Regions from separate parts of the Homo sapiens genome. Here all the other regions are linked to region 1. Evidence: promoter capture Hi-C in human tissues and cell types (Jung and others, 2019). All regions are on one chromosome and are shown on one strand. The core of a region is centred on a gene start or on the middle of the fragment in contact, and the rest is flanking DNA. Distances in the headings are between cores, read along the strand shown. Region 1 holds the start of CCDC126 (coiled-coil domain containing 126). Region 2 overlaps GSDME (gasdermin E). Region 3 overlaps LOC124901820 (translation initiation factor IF-2-like). Region 4 overlaps GSDME (gasdermin E).

Evidence for each region. The method cuts DNA at HindIII sites, captures the fragments that hold promoters and counts their contacts. A contact is called where the count stands out against the background at its distance.
Region 2: a fragment that was not itself captured here is called in contact with the fragment with the promoter of CCDC126 in region 1 in 1 of the 25 tissues and cell types used here (mesenchymal stem cells).
Region 3: a fragment that was not itself captured here is called in contact with the fragment with the promoter of CCDC126 in region 1 in 1 of the 25 tissues and cell types used here (lymphoblastoid cells).
Region 4: a contact is called between a fragment that was not itself captured here and the fragment with the promoter of CCDC126 in region 1, in 1 of the 25 tissues and cell types used here (dorsolateral prefrontal cortex).

The regions. Positions count from the first base shown.
Region 1 is chr7:23,595,882-23,599,246 of GRCh38, forward strand. It overlaps CCDC126 (coiled-coil domain containing 126), which reads left to right and starts at 1,501. Exons shown (of 4, transcript NM_138771.4): 1 at 1,501-1,724; 2 at 2,086-2,170. LOC105375187 (a long non-coding RNA gene) reads right to left here and starts at 1,444. Exons shown (of 2, transcript XR_927098.2): 1 at 1,236-1,444. RefSeq lists a silencer at 1,743-1,982. The HindIII fragment of the contact is 2,823 bases long and covers 711-3,365 here.
Region 2 is chr7:24,725,859-24,729,037 of GRCh38, forward strand. The region is part of intron 3 of GSDME (gasdermin E); the gene reads right to left. Among named protein-coding and RNA genes, the nearest start is that of GSDME, 30 kb to the right of the region's middle. RefSeq lists enhancers at 1-577, 578-1,259, 1,580-1,799, 2,670-2,779. The HindIII fragment of the contact is 4,307 bases long and covers 1-3,179 here.
Region 3 is chr7:24,759,930-24,762,854 of GRCh38, forward strand. All of the region lies in intron 1 of LOC124901820 (translation initiation factor IF-2-like), which reads right to left. It also overlaps a transcript of GSDME not described here. Among named protein-coding and RNA genes, the nearest start is that of GSDME, 3.9 kb to the left of the region's middle. The HindIII fragment of the contact is 6,376 bases long and covers 1-2,925 here.
Region 4 is chr7:24,698,637-24,701,862 of GRCh38, forward strand. GSDME (gasdermin E) reads right to left here. Exons shown (of 10, transcript NM_001127453.2): 10 at 1-623. The coding sequence ends at 390. Among named protein-coding and RNA genes, the nearest start is that of GSDME, 57 kb to the right of the region's middle. RefSeq lists a silencer at 3,154-3,226. The HindIII fragment of the contact is 4,995 bases long and covers 1-3,226 here.

The DNA.
Region 1 (3,365 bases), core at 251-2,750:
ACCTCCTGGGCTCAAAGTGATCCTCCTGCCCCCAGCCTCTTGAGTAGCAGGGACTATAGGTGCATGCCACCACAACTGGCTGACTTTGGTATTTTTTTGGGGGGTACAGATGGGGTTTTGCCATGTTGCCCAGGCTGGTCTTGAACTCCAGGCTCAAGCAATCCACTTGCCTCAGCCTCCCGAAGTGCTGAGATCATAGGCATGGGCCACCGTGCCTAGTCTATAATAAAGCTTGTTATCCGGTAGCACAAGTTTTCCTCCTCCCACTCCTTCTCCTCTTCTTTTTTTTTCTTCCTCCTCTTCCTCATGAATGCTTGTCTTTGCTCTTCCATAACATTTTGAATTAGCTTGTCAAGTTTCTCACACATACACAGAAATTTATTGAGATTTTGTTGGGAATTGCACTGGCTCTGTAGGTAGGTTTGGAGAGACTTGGCATTTTTCAGTATTGACTCTTCCAATTTATGAACATGTTACATCTTTATTTAGGTCTTCTTCAGTGTCTTCCAATGTTTTCTTCAGGCAGGTTTTGCATTTCTTTGATCGATTTATTCCTAGGTACTTGATATTTGTTTGGAGCTGTTGGAAATGGTATCTTTAAAAAAATTATCTTTTTTACTAGCATATATAAATAAATATTGATTTTTTAAAATATGATTTTTGTATCTATTAACCTTGTTAAAAACTTTTATTGTTAACAGTTTATCTGCAGATTGTTTTGAAGTGCCACAAACAATTTTTTTTTTTTTTTGAGACGGAGTTCTGCTCTTGTTGCCCAGGCTGGAGTGCAGTGGCGCGATATCAGCTCACTGCAACCTCCGCCTCCTGGGTTCAAGCAATTCTCCCGCCTCAGCTCCCCGAGAGGCTGGAATTACAGGCGTCCGCCACCTCGCCCTGCTAAGTTCGTATCTGTAGTAGAGACGGGGTTTCACCATGTTGGCCAGGCTGGTCTCGAATTCCCGACCTCAGGTGATCCTCCCGTCTTGGCCTCACAAACTGCTGGGATTACAGGCATGAGCCAACGGCGCCCGGCCTCCACGTACATAATTACATAATCTATGAAAAAATAATTTTGTTTCTTCCTATTTAATCTTCAATCCTTTTATTTTTCTTGCCTCACTCCACTGGCTAAGGACCTTTGGCTTCAATAATGGGTAGTCTCATCTGTAGCACACTTAATCATCACTAAGCTTTCCCAGCCTCAGGTCAATAGTATTAGGAGGTTGGTTCCTCACCGGAGGGTCGGGAACAAGACGCCAGAGCCCTTCTTCCAGCGCCTGCAGCGAGTTAAGGCCGAGGGTATGCCTCTGGCGGGCTCATCTTCCAACACAGAAGACCCCGCCGCCCTCTCTGGTTGCCGCGCAGCTGCGTCGTTCTGACCCAGGGTAGGTGCAGGGCGGCTGGAAGCACGTGCCGCCGCTTCCTCATTCTGGGACTACATCCCCCACAATGCCGCGCGCCGCGGGCGGCTGGCCCCCGAGTGCGGGAAGGGCCGGCAGGGAGGCGGAGCGGAAGCCGAGTGCGAGGGACGAGCGGAGTAAAATCTCCACAAGCTGGGAACAAACCTCGTCCCAACTCCCACCCACCGGCGTTTCTCCAGCTCGATCTGGAGGCTGCTTCGCCAGTGTGGGACGCAGCTGACGCCCGCTTATTAGCTCTCGCTGCGTCGCCCCGGCTCAGAAGCTCCGTGGCGGCGGCGACCGTGACGAGAAGCCCACGGCCAGGTAATGAGTAAGGGGCGAGTCCGCCAGCCGGGCCCGCACCTCTCGCGCGCCCCTCAGCCTAGCCGGCCGCTCCTCCCCCGCCGCGCCCCCGTCCCCGGTCCCCGCCCCGCTAGGGCCGCTGCTGCGGAAACCCGGCTTAGGAACGGGCCGGCAGCCTCCGGCCGCGGCCGGGAAGGCTCTTTGTCCCTTCCTTTGGGCCGCGTCTCTGCCCCTCCGCGTCTGACAGCCGCGGCGCCTCGGCTCGGGCGGAGAGCCGAGCGTGGCTGGGGCTGCGCGAGTCGAGCGGGGCGGGCTTGGTCCGGAGCTGCGGGATGTAGATCCCGGGCGGCACCGCACTCACTTCTTTTTCTGTTTTTGACAGCTCAGTTCTCTTCTACTTTGGGAGAGAGAGAAAGTCAGATGCCCCTTTTAAACTCCCTCTTCAAAACTCATCTCCTGGGTGACTGGTAAGGATGAACTTAAACTGCCGTGTTGATTGTTGACTGTGACGGTAATGAGAATGGCTCAGCCAGCTAGGGTTCGAATCCTGCCTGGGTTTCTCTCACTGCCTGCCTTGGTGATCTTGGTTACTTAAAGGCTCTAAGCTTGAGTTTTCTCATCCATCAAAACACACACCTGTAAGTGGTTAGAATTAGGAATATAGACCTATAACGTCATTAGTTCTTCATTTGATGAAAAGATCCTTTGTGATACTTTCATTAGCTATGACTGAAGTGACCGAAGTGGCCTCTGGACTTGAGTTTTGTGCTTTTGTTTGTTTAATCATCCTGGGTTGTGTGTTCTTCACTTTATCTTAAACCTAACCAAAGGATTCATTAAAATATGCCGTCTTCCTAATTTTTGCTGTTTTAAGATGGCTGAGAATGTTCTTAGGAAATTGATGACTCTGCTTTTCTGTGGATCAGCTTCAGAGGTACAAGTATTCACCTCTCCCCTCCCCCTCAGGTGTGTCCTTTGGGAATCCTTAGAGGCGCTAAGTGTTTGTTTCGTCAGAGTAGGCATCCAGGTATTTTACAGTCCTGCCTCTGGGCTTCACCATATTTAACCTGGGTCAACTTTTTTCTACATCTGTCTGCATCTTCTCACTGATTAATAATTTCTCACTCTAAAATGTGTTGCAAAAATACTTGTTTTGAGGAAAATGTTTCTATGTTGGTGTTATTTAGTGCAGTGTAGGACAGAGAGTAATGGCTACGGAAATAGGAGTCCTTAGTTTTGTCCTTGCTCTGTCACTATCTGTGTAACCTGAGATTACTTTGTGGTCCTCAATGTCCTCATCTCTAAAATAGTGAATTGGTCTGATTCCAAGGACTCTTCTAGCTCAGACTTTCAATGATAAAGGTTTTTAGAGGTTTTTTTTTAAATGTGGAAACAAAATTTGTGTAAACCCTTTTAGTCATTTGTGTTCTTAGTGTTTCTTCCTGCTTCAGGTCATATAATTCTTTCAAACTACCTTGAAAGAAGGAATACATTTAAGAGAACAAGAAAGCTGCCAGAAATAAGAATCTCTACCAGCCAGTTATCACTCTCTCATGAGCTGCACAGTTTCTCTGCATTTTTGACATGCTTTGTTCTCTTTCTCCCTACTCTGTATCTTTTGCTCATAGCCCCTATACCTGTTGTGCCTGATTCTTCATAACT
Region 2 (3,179 bases), core at 154-2,653, 1.1 Mb after region 1:
TGAGGGGTGGTCCCCTCCCTTAAGGAAGTGGACCCTCAAAGCAATTAAGAGCATGGCTCCATGGACACAGGACAGGAGTTGGATACAAGACGCGGATACATTCAAGACAGCAGCTACATGATACAGGACGAGAGATGGCTGGAAAAGGAGACCAGGCAGGAGCTGCTGGGAGGCGGCAGGCAGAGATGGAGGGAGGGAAGCGTGGCTCAGAGCCCAGCGTGGTTGCTGGGGACCAGAGCAGCCCAGCAGGAAGGGAGGCTCCAGCTCTTCCAGCATCCATCAGCTCCCCAGGCCCAGCCCTAATGAAGCCGCCTCCTCTCCCAGCCTGAAGCTTTAATTTCCATTTTCTCTGCTTCTAAGACTTTCAAGAGCCAAAATGCAAACTCACAGAGGAGAAACCCAGAGACAACTTTTAAAAGTCTGACAATATCCAAAAGGAGGGAAGCAGGTTTCTTTACCAAAGCATAAAGGAGGTCCCGGGGATGCCTCCTGCAGAGACACAGGAGGGCGAGCTTTGTCATGCAGACCCCACACTTCAACTCTCCTTCATTCATCTCCACAAATACCTGAGTTCTGCTATGCTCCAGGCACCAGGCCAGATGCAAGTTTCTCAGGGAAGAGGCCAAGGCAGCCACCACTAGCAGGGTCCTCTTACACAAAAACCCTTGATAGTAACAATGGTAGGCCGGGCGCGGTGGCTCACGCCTGTTATCCCAGCACTTTGGGAGGCCGAGGCGGGCGGATCACGAGGTCAGGAGATCGAGACCATCCTGGTTAATATGGTGAAACCCCGTCTCTACTAAAAATACAAAAAATCAGCCCGGCATAGTCCTGGCTACTCGGGAGGCTGAGGCAGAAGAATGGCGTTAACCCGGGAGGTGGAACTTGCAGTGAGCCGAGATCGCCCACTGCACTCCAGCCCGGGGGACAGAGCGAGACTCCGTCTCAAAAAAAAAAAAAAAAAACCAATGGCCTCGAGGAAGAGTTTCCAATGGAAACCCTGGGGAGCCTGGTAAGGCTCTCCAAACCCCAGGGGACATCATGACAGAGCAGGAGCTTTTGTTGAGTCTGCTGTGGAGAAATTATAAAACTAGAAGGGACCCAAGGGGATTATCTAGCTCTGGGCAGAAACTCAGGTTCATCTTTATTTTCACCTTGATTAATCCATCAGCTATTACTGCCTGGCTGTAGGAAAAGGATTCTAAGGCTGAGTGTGGGCTGGAAGACAGTAAGGAGGAAGAAAGCTGTGATTAAGTGGCAGTGTCTGCTTGGACATGGGAGGGGGATGGCCCTGATCACCTAGATCTAACCCAGTGTCTCTGCTCATTAGTGAAGAATGTGCCCCAGAGAGGTGACAGGCCCACCTGAACCACATGGCCTGTTAGTGGCAGTGCCAAAATCAGGAACTGCATCTTCTGACTCTGAGACCAGTGTGCTTTTCCACTACACTCTTCTAAAGAACAACAAAAAGTGAAAGGTACAAATGCAGACTGAGGAAATGGTGCAGTACTGCCAGAGCTGGTTTCAACATCTCCCCAGAAACAGAGATGGGGACATGACAGAGAGCCAAAAGGTGGTGGCCAGCCTGCTGCTCAAGGAATATTAAGCAAGAATTACTAACCCACAGAAACAGAGATATGTATTGATGATAAAGGCTTTAGTAAATCCAGAACTTCTCCCAAGGGTTTTGATTTATTGGCTAAAACTACAGTTTACAAAGGATCACACGTGTGTTCACACACCAGCTGTAGAGTAGGAAAATTAGGTCCACAGACATTGCCTGTAAACTCCTTGGCTTTGCCTTTGTGACATTTCATTAAGTGGGAAAGTCTGCTTCTCTCTTGATAACCAACCTCCTCCAGTCTACAGAGATGGCAGAGTTTTATTTCAGTAACTGCCCCCCTAAAATCCTGGAACACACACACCATTGCCTCCTTCATCTGCCGATTTCCCCTCCAAGGGAGGCTCCATTCACCCTTTTCAAAGACTGTAAGCTTTTTGACAACGAAGGCAGGAGAGCAGCGCTCAAACCACATCTGTGCTGCTTCTGCAGGAACTGTCCCCAGCATCCTGTACCGGGAAGGCTGCAAAACCCTCCCACACTACGAGTCGGGGGTGCCACTAGCTGCCGTCCCCAGCACTGTTCGGGAGCTAGGGGGGCTGTAACGGGAGGAAGAGACAGGGTGCACCCAGCCCTGCCAATGAGTCTTGATTTGTCTCTCGGCCATTCTTGGTCACTCCGTTTTTCTTATCAGGAATCGGGGGCAATTCTGGCCAATGAGACCTGAGGAAAATCTGTTAGGGGTTCTCAAGTTTTTCTCCCTCTTAAAAAGGGACACAAAGAAGAGGCCACTTTTCTGCCTCTGGACCTTTTGTCTGCAATGTGGCTGCCATTTAGGGACCAAGAGAACTTGAGCTGCCAGGACAGATGGCGGCTGCCACAGGGGCCCACAGAGCCACCGAACTGACCTTCTGCCGTTAACCATTCAGTCAACCGGGACGCACCCTCTTCGAGATGTTTTCTTATGTGAGATAATAACAAATGTTCTTTGCAACCAGACACCCTAACTGGTATATGAAGTGACCATCATCCTTATTTCAGAAAGCAACAAGAAGCACGAAGAACTCAGAAGCCAAGGGGCTGGGTGAGAATGCAGCTCAGCACCATCCACCCTCGAAGCTCTGCGCCCATCTGCCTCTCCCTCCTGAACCTTCCTGGGCCCTGCATACAGAAGGCGCTTAATGCATGCTTGATTGTTAAAGAACTGGCAGTCTTTCTGCTCCATCCCATGAGAGCTTCCCAGAGTCAGGAAGTGGATCCTCTTGGAAACGAAAGCAGCCGCCCACTGTCTCCCCCGCAGGTACTAGCAGTCCCCATTTCAACCACGTTTCATAACAGAAACTTCCCACACATCAGAGATGCTCAGCCCACAGCCGGGGGCAGGAAATCTCTAGAAACCTCAACTCCTGTGCCCTGGGCCTCCACTTCCAACACAGTGAGATAAGCCCTGCTCTTTCTCTCTCTGTCACTTGGCTGTAATGTAGATGACTTCAGGATTGTAAAATGCTGGGAAAATCAAAATTGGGGCAGAATGCTCACTGCACATTGTTGCCAAAGTGACCAAGTCACCCGCAGACTGTGGCTGCTCCGCCTCTGTCCACATTATAGTCTCTAATAC
Region 3 (2,925 bases), core at 304-2,803, 1.2 Mb after region 1:
GATGAACATATACAACATGGAAACTTTTAGCCCAATTGGAAAAAAGTAAATAAAAAGAAAACGTGGAACTCCAATCTTCTTATTCCATATAGATATATCCCCTTTGAGGAAATGGAGGGCTATGGAAAGAAAATCTCACAGGAGATCAATTGGAGTGGTCCTAATGATGATGGTAAGCAGCATCTGCTTTCAAAAAGATTCGTTATATAAACTATGTTTCAACTTACAGAACTTCTGAAACACATCTATTGGGTGTCGTGTATTTCCTACCCTATGCCTAGATTCTTGCTAAGGAAAAATACGCAAAGGGCAGCAAAAGTCAATAAAACTCATTACCGGGATTTATTTCGTAAATGAATACACCAATAAACCAGCTCTGCATGGCTGCCATAATTGCTTCCTAGTTCCTTGAGAACCACATTTGGAGACCTGGACGCTTTCAGATTAATAACCTCTGCAAAGGAGAGAAAAACAGACTTTGGATCCATCAGATTTGGGTAGAATCCAGCCTACCACTTACCAGCTGAGTGACTTTAGGCAAATTGTATAACTTCCCATTTAAAAATTACTTATAACATTGTCATGAGATTATATAAAGTACTCAGCCCATAGTAGCACTCAATAAAAATTAGTTTCCTTGCCTTTATTAATTACTTTTCAGCTAAAGTTGCCTTTAAATTAAGACTACATTTTTCACATATGCATAATTTTGCCTTTTACCATATTGATTGCTTCCCAGAGGAACATAGCTACTAACATAAATTAAAATAAAATTTGGCATACATTGATATATATTTTAAAACTGATTTCATTTACCTCCCTAAATCCCAAAAGTGCTTTTTAAACTGGAGACTGTATTGCCAATGCATATTACTAATTACTGCTTTAAAATAAAAAGCTTTATAGAGGGTTAAATATGGTCCAGAATTAAATCTGTTTCTCTTGGTGTCCCAACCTTCTCTTATTCAATTGCAAGGCACGGATACAGATAGGAGAAGAACTGAAATTACTTGGCAGCTAGCAAATGATCAACCAATATTGTCAAAATCAAAAGTCTCAATGCAAATATTATTGGACAAACAAGGAAATGTGAAATAATTTGCTGTCCCAATTATCAACTGCTGTATAACAAACTACCCCAAAACTTAGTGGCTTGAAACAACAACCACTTTACTATATCTCACAATTTTGTAGGTTAGGGCTTTGAGCAGGGCTCAGCTGAGTGACTCTTCTGTTCCATGTGCACTGACTGGGGTCACTCAGTGGAATTTAGCTGGTGAAGGTGAATGGCCTGGTTTGGAGGGTCCTGGATAACTTCACCCATGTCTTTGCCCATTCGGTTTGCTGTAATAAAATACCATAGACTGAGTGGCTTATAAACAACAGGACTTTATTTCTCACAGTTCTGGAGGCTGAGAGAGAAGTCCAAGATGAAGGCATCAGCAGATTCGATGTCTGGTGAGATCCTGCTTCCTAGTTCATAGATAGTGACTTCTCAATGTGTCCACACCTGGTGGAAGGGAAGAACAAACAAAACAAGTCCCTAAGTCTCTTATAAGGGCACTAATCCCATTGATGAGGGTTCCACCTCATGACCTAATCACATCCCAAAGGCCCCACCTCCTGAAACTATCACATTGGTGATTAAGTTTCAACATATGGCTTTGGGGGAACACAAACATTCAGACCATAGCATCTCATGTCTAGTGCACTGGCAGGGATGCCTTGAGGGTGGGACTGAACTTGAGGGTTATCAACCAGAGCCCTACATGTGGCCTCTTCATCATGGTGGTTTTTGGGAAGTCAGACTTCTTATAGTGGAGGCTCAGGGCTCCAAAAGCAAATGTTCAAGAAAAAGAAACAAGGCAGAAGCTAGAAGTCTTATGACATAATCTCTAAACACCCAGAACGTAATTTCCACAACAAGCCTAGATTCAAAGATAGGGGTGGTATATTCTACCTCTCAATGGGAGAAACAGCAAAGAATTTCCAGACATCTTCTATCTGCCGCCCTTGTTTTCATGAAAGAAAGTGGCATTACAGGATAGGCGCAGTGGCTTCTGTCTGTATTCCCAACACTTTGAGAGGCTGAGGTGGGTAGATCAGTTGAGCCCAGGAGTTAGAGAGCAGCCTGGCCAACATGGTGAAACCCCATCTGTACTAAAAATGCAAAAAATTAGCCAGTGTGATGGTGCATACCTGTAGTCCCAGCTACTCGGGAGGCTGATGCAGGAGAATCACCTGAGCCTGGGAAGTTGAGGGTGCAGTGAGCTGTGATCGTGCCACTGTACTCCAGCCTGGGTGACAGAAACTGTGTGTCAAAAAAAAAAAAAAAGCCATAAAAGAAAGTGGCATTACATAAACAAAGTTAGTAAAAACTTCTGTATTGTTTGTCCATTGTTCATGGAGAAACATACGTTATTATCAGCATTAAGGAAATTTGTGATGAATACCAGTAGTCAGCCACCAGATGTCCAATTTACAGAAATATTCAAAATAATATGATCCAGAGATATACAAACTTTTTTCATCTGATTATCGTTATTTTTAAATATTGTCCAGTATCCAGGTGAGCTATACCCAGCATAGAGAAGTAAAGCCCATGCACCTAACATCTTTTTAACAAATATTTATTAGTGACCTACTAGGTGCTGGGTGCCATATTAGGTACTGAGGATATAAGGTGACCAACGAGAATGTGCTTCATGCCCTCCAGGTCTGTGGGCTTTGTAGTATAGCGGGAAAGGCAGACAGATAAACAATAAGGATAGAGGATGAGAAGTACAATGATCAGCTGTCCTTGTTAGGGTAAGCTAACTGCTAAAATGAAGTCCCAAATTATAATGGCTCAAATACAATAGTAGCTTATTTCCTACTCGGTAAACAGTCTGACTAAGGTACTTCTAGGTTTTGGGTGGGGTGGGT
Region 4 (3,226 bases), core at 497-2,996, 1.1 Mb after region 1:
AGCATTCACAATGTAAAAAGACCTTTTGGATTAAAGGGTCAGACTCTTTCTATGTAACAAAAAGTGGAATGCAAGTGACAGATGGACTTATTATTGTGCAGAAAAAACGTCTGAATGTATGCTAAGAATTCTCCGCCCTCCCAGCTCTTTACATGCTGGAACCTAACTCAGATGCTGGGTCACCAGCACAGGAGGGCCTCTGATAAGGAAAACTGTTTAAAGAGTACCTGGTGGCTAAAAGTCAGGTCATTCATCATGCAAAATGTCACCACTTCTTAAACTGTTCTGTAAATTCATTTCATTGGTCAACTTTTAACGTGCATATGACCTTTAACAGTTCTGAAAAATAGCCTTGGCCAGTAACACGTACTTCTAGTTCACATATGACATCATGAATGTTCTCTGCCTAAAGCACAGAGTCCATTCAGGGTTATACAAAGAAGCAGTGGGAAGACTTTAGAGTCCTTCAGAATGACAGCTTTCACAGATGACTTCAGTCTCTCCAGACTAATGTCAGCTGAGGCAAACAAGCGCTGCACAATCCCAAACCTTTCTGTATCTTTCAGGGGAGTCAAGGTTGGGTCTTCAAGATCAGATACTCCATCATCAGACAGAGCACGAAGCTGAAATGACACATTTAAACAAATTCACTTTTAAAATGTCCTAAAAAATCCACATTGGATAGTAATGCACTTGTAGGTAATTCTGGGGGAAAAAACTTTTTGAGATGGAGTCTTGCTCTGTCGTCCAGGCTGGAGTGCAGTGGCGTGATCTCGGCTCACTGCAACCTCCAGCTCCCAGGTTCAAGCGATTCTTTTGCCTCAGCCTCCCGAGTAGCTGGTACAGGTGTGCGCCACCATGCCCAGCTAATTTTTGTATTTTTAGTAGAGATGGGGTTTCACCGTGTTGGCCAGGCTGGTCTCAAATTCCTGACCTCAGGTGATCTGCCCACCTCGGCCTCCCAAAGTGCTGTGATTACAGACATGAGCCACCACGCCTGGCCAACTATGTCGTTTTTTAAATTTCCCCAAATAGAGCAGGAAAACCCTTGAGGTGTAACATGATATATTTGATCCAGGCCAGGACCTCAGGCCTGATTCTATCCAATTTGTCTAGTGTCCTCTGTCTGAATCCCTACTCTCCAAACTCTTTCTACTAGTCCCATTAACTCCAGTACATTAGAAAGGTTAGAATGTACTTTGGTCATATATGCAGTATGCTTAGTTTTTGTTTTACTGAAGATATTAGAACTTTCTTATATCTTTGCATGAACTCCTCAAAGGTAGGTACCATAGTTTAGTTTAATTATCCTTCCTGCCTCAAGAACCTTTTCCCTTGTTATTCCTTCTTCCAAATTTCCCTGTTGATCTCCCCTTCTCATCACTCAGTTGTCAGCTGAAATGCCACATTGAGGGCCTTTCCCAATCCCTTTCCATCTAGCTACCCCCAGCCCCAGAACTCAGCCTTATGTTACTCCATTATGTTGTATCCATAAACTTACTATATCTGAAGTAATCTGCTTGATAGTGTTTAGTCACCTTCCCTTATTTAACCCTAAGCTGCTCGTGAGAGCAGGGACCTTGTCTGCCGTGCCTACAACACAGACACTCAATGTGTTCTTCACCGAGGTCACTTTGGATGCTGCTCTAATTCCACTGCTCAACACATACTTGAAATATTTGATTTGCTTTTAGGGTCTTGATCTGTACCCGTAATATTTTACAAATCTTAAGCAATTACAAATTTACCAGTAGATTTCATTTTGAAACAGGCATTCAAGATCTGATTAATAATGTAAGTAGTAAAATTTTAAATTAAATTAAAAATGAAATAAGCCTAGAAAGTTTGCCTGAATTTTAAGAAATCTGAAGGGAATCCAAAAGAAAAAATTCCAGAAATTTCCTGAGCAGTGGTGACTATCTTGAAAGTCATGCAGCTTGTCCAGGTAGACTGAAGGGTAGCACTCACTGGAATGTAAAAGTACTTGTGGGTTTATTATCAAAATCAGCCTCACGAACCTTGTAGATTCGCCAAATACAACTCACACAATGTAACCACAGGCTTAACGTTACCATTAGGCTCAGACTGCAAACTATTGATTGTGCTTTAGAGAGTAGATTAGACCTGCTCTTTAAGCACAGCATCACACCCCAGTGAATTAAGGAGGAGCCCCACTGGCGCAGGCTGGAGACTGTCAACAGCATGGCAGGCTCCCTGTCCTTACCACCTGGTGGATGAGAGCTGTGCAGCATTCGGCTTTCTTTTCTAAATATCCACCACCCCCTTTGCCCACAGGCATTTCTAGGTATAAGGGGGAAACGGTGACCCAGAGGGTGGTGGAGTGAAGTTAACATTCTCTACTGATTCTAACTCACCCTTTCACCAGTTCTTGGAAATGTGTTAGTGTATCTGGCACTGTACTCCCAAAAGCCCTTCAGAAAGCCTCTCAAAGTTACCCTGGCTACTAGACAAGAAAAGACAGGGCTGCAGATGGATTTTGTGCCGTTTTAAGTAAATCCCTTAAAGAAACATGACGCTCAAATTCCTTCAGGAGGCAGACACCTCGATGTCTTAAATAGAGCTATTGCAAATCTGAGGGGAGGTATGTGAAGATACCCAGGAAGGTCTTTACAGAAAAAGGAGGTCTTTGACTATGTTGAGCAGTGCCAAAAGGCAGAATGTGCAGAAGCAGAATACCTTCCATTCTGAACTCCGAATGTGTTCTGGCTGCTGCTCTTAGAACACCAACAGAGCAGAACTTGGGGGTAATACAAATGTCCTAGAGCTGATCTGCAGGGAGGAGGACAGCTAAGTGTGAGTTTGTCACAGAAGGGGTTAGATAACAGTTAGATAACATGGGCTTGGCAGGATTTTCTTTTTATTTGCTTCAGTTGCAGTTGATGAATCTGTAAATACTTGGGAAGGACTAACTTAGTAAATGCTGAGCACTCAGTTGCTGCAAGAGGAGCTGAGATCTGAAAGCAGAGCTGTTGTTTTGCTCATCATTGCATACAATTAGAATAATGGCACGTATTGTTTCCATAACCAGACTGTGCCACCAGCCTTTACCCTCAGCTGGCCCAGGACACACATGCTGGCACATTTTCAAGTAGTTCCATTTTTGCAGTCAGTGGACAAGCATGCATGTTCCTCTGGGCCTGTGGAATCTTTCAGTTGTGATACCTGATCTGCTCCTTGGAATGATGCCATGCTGCATAGTCTTCTA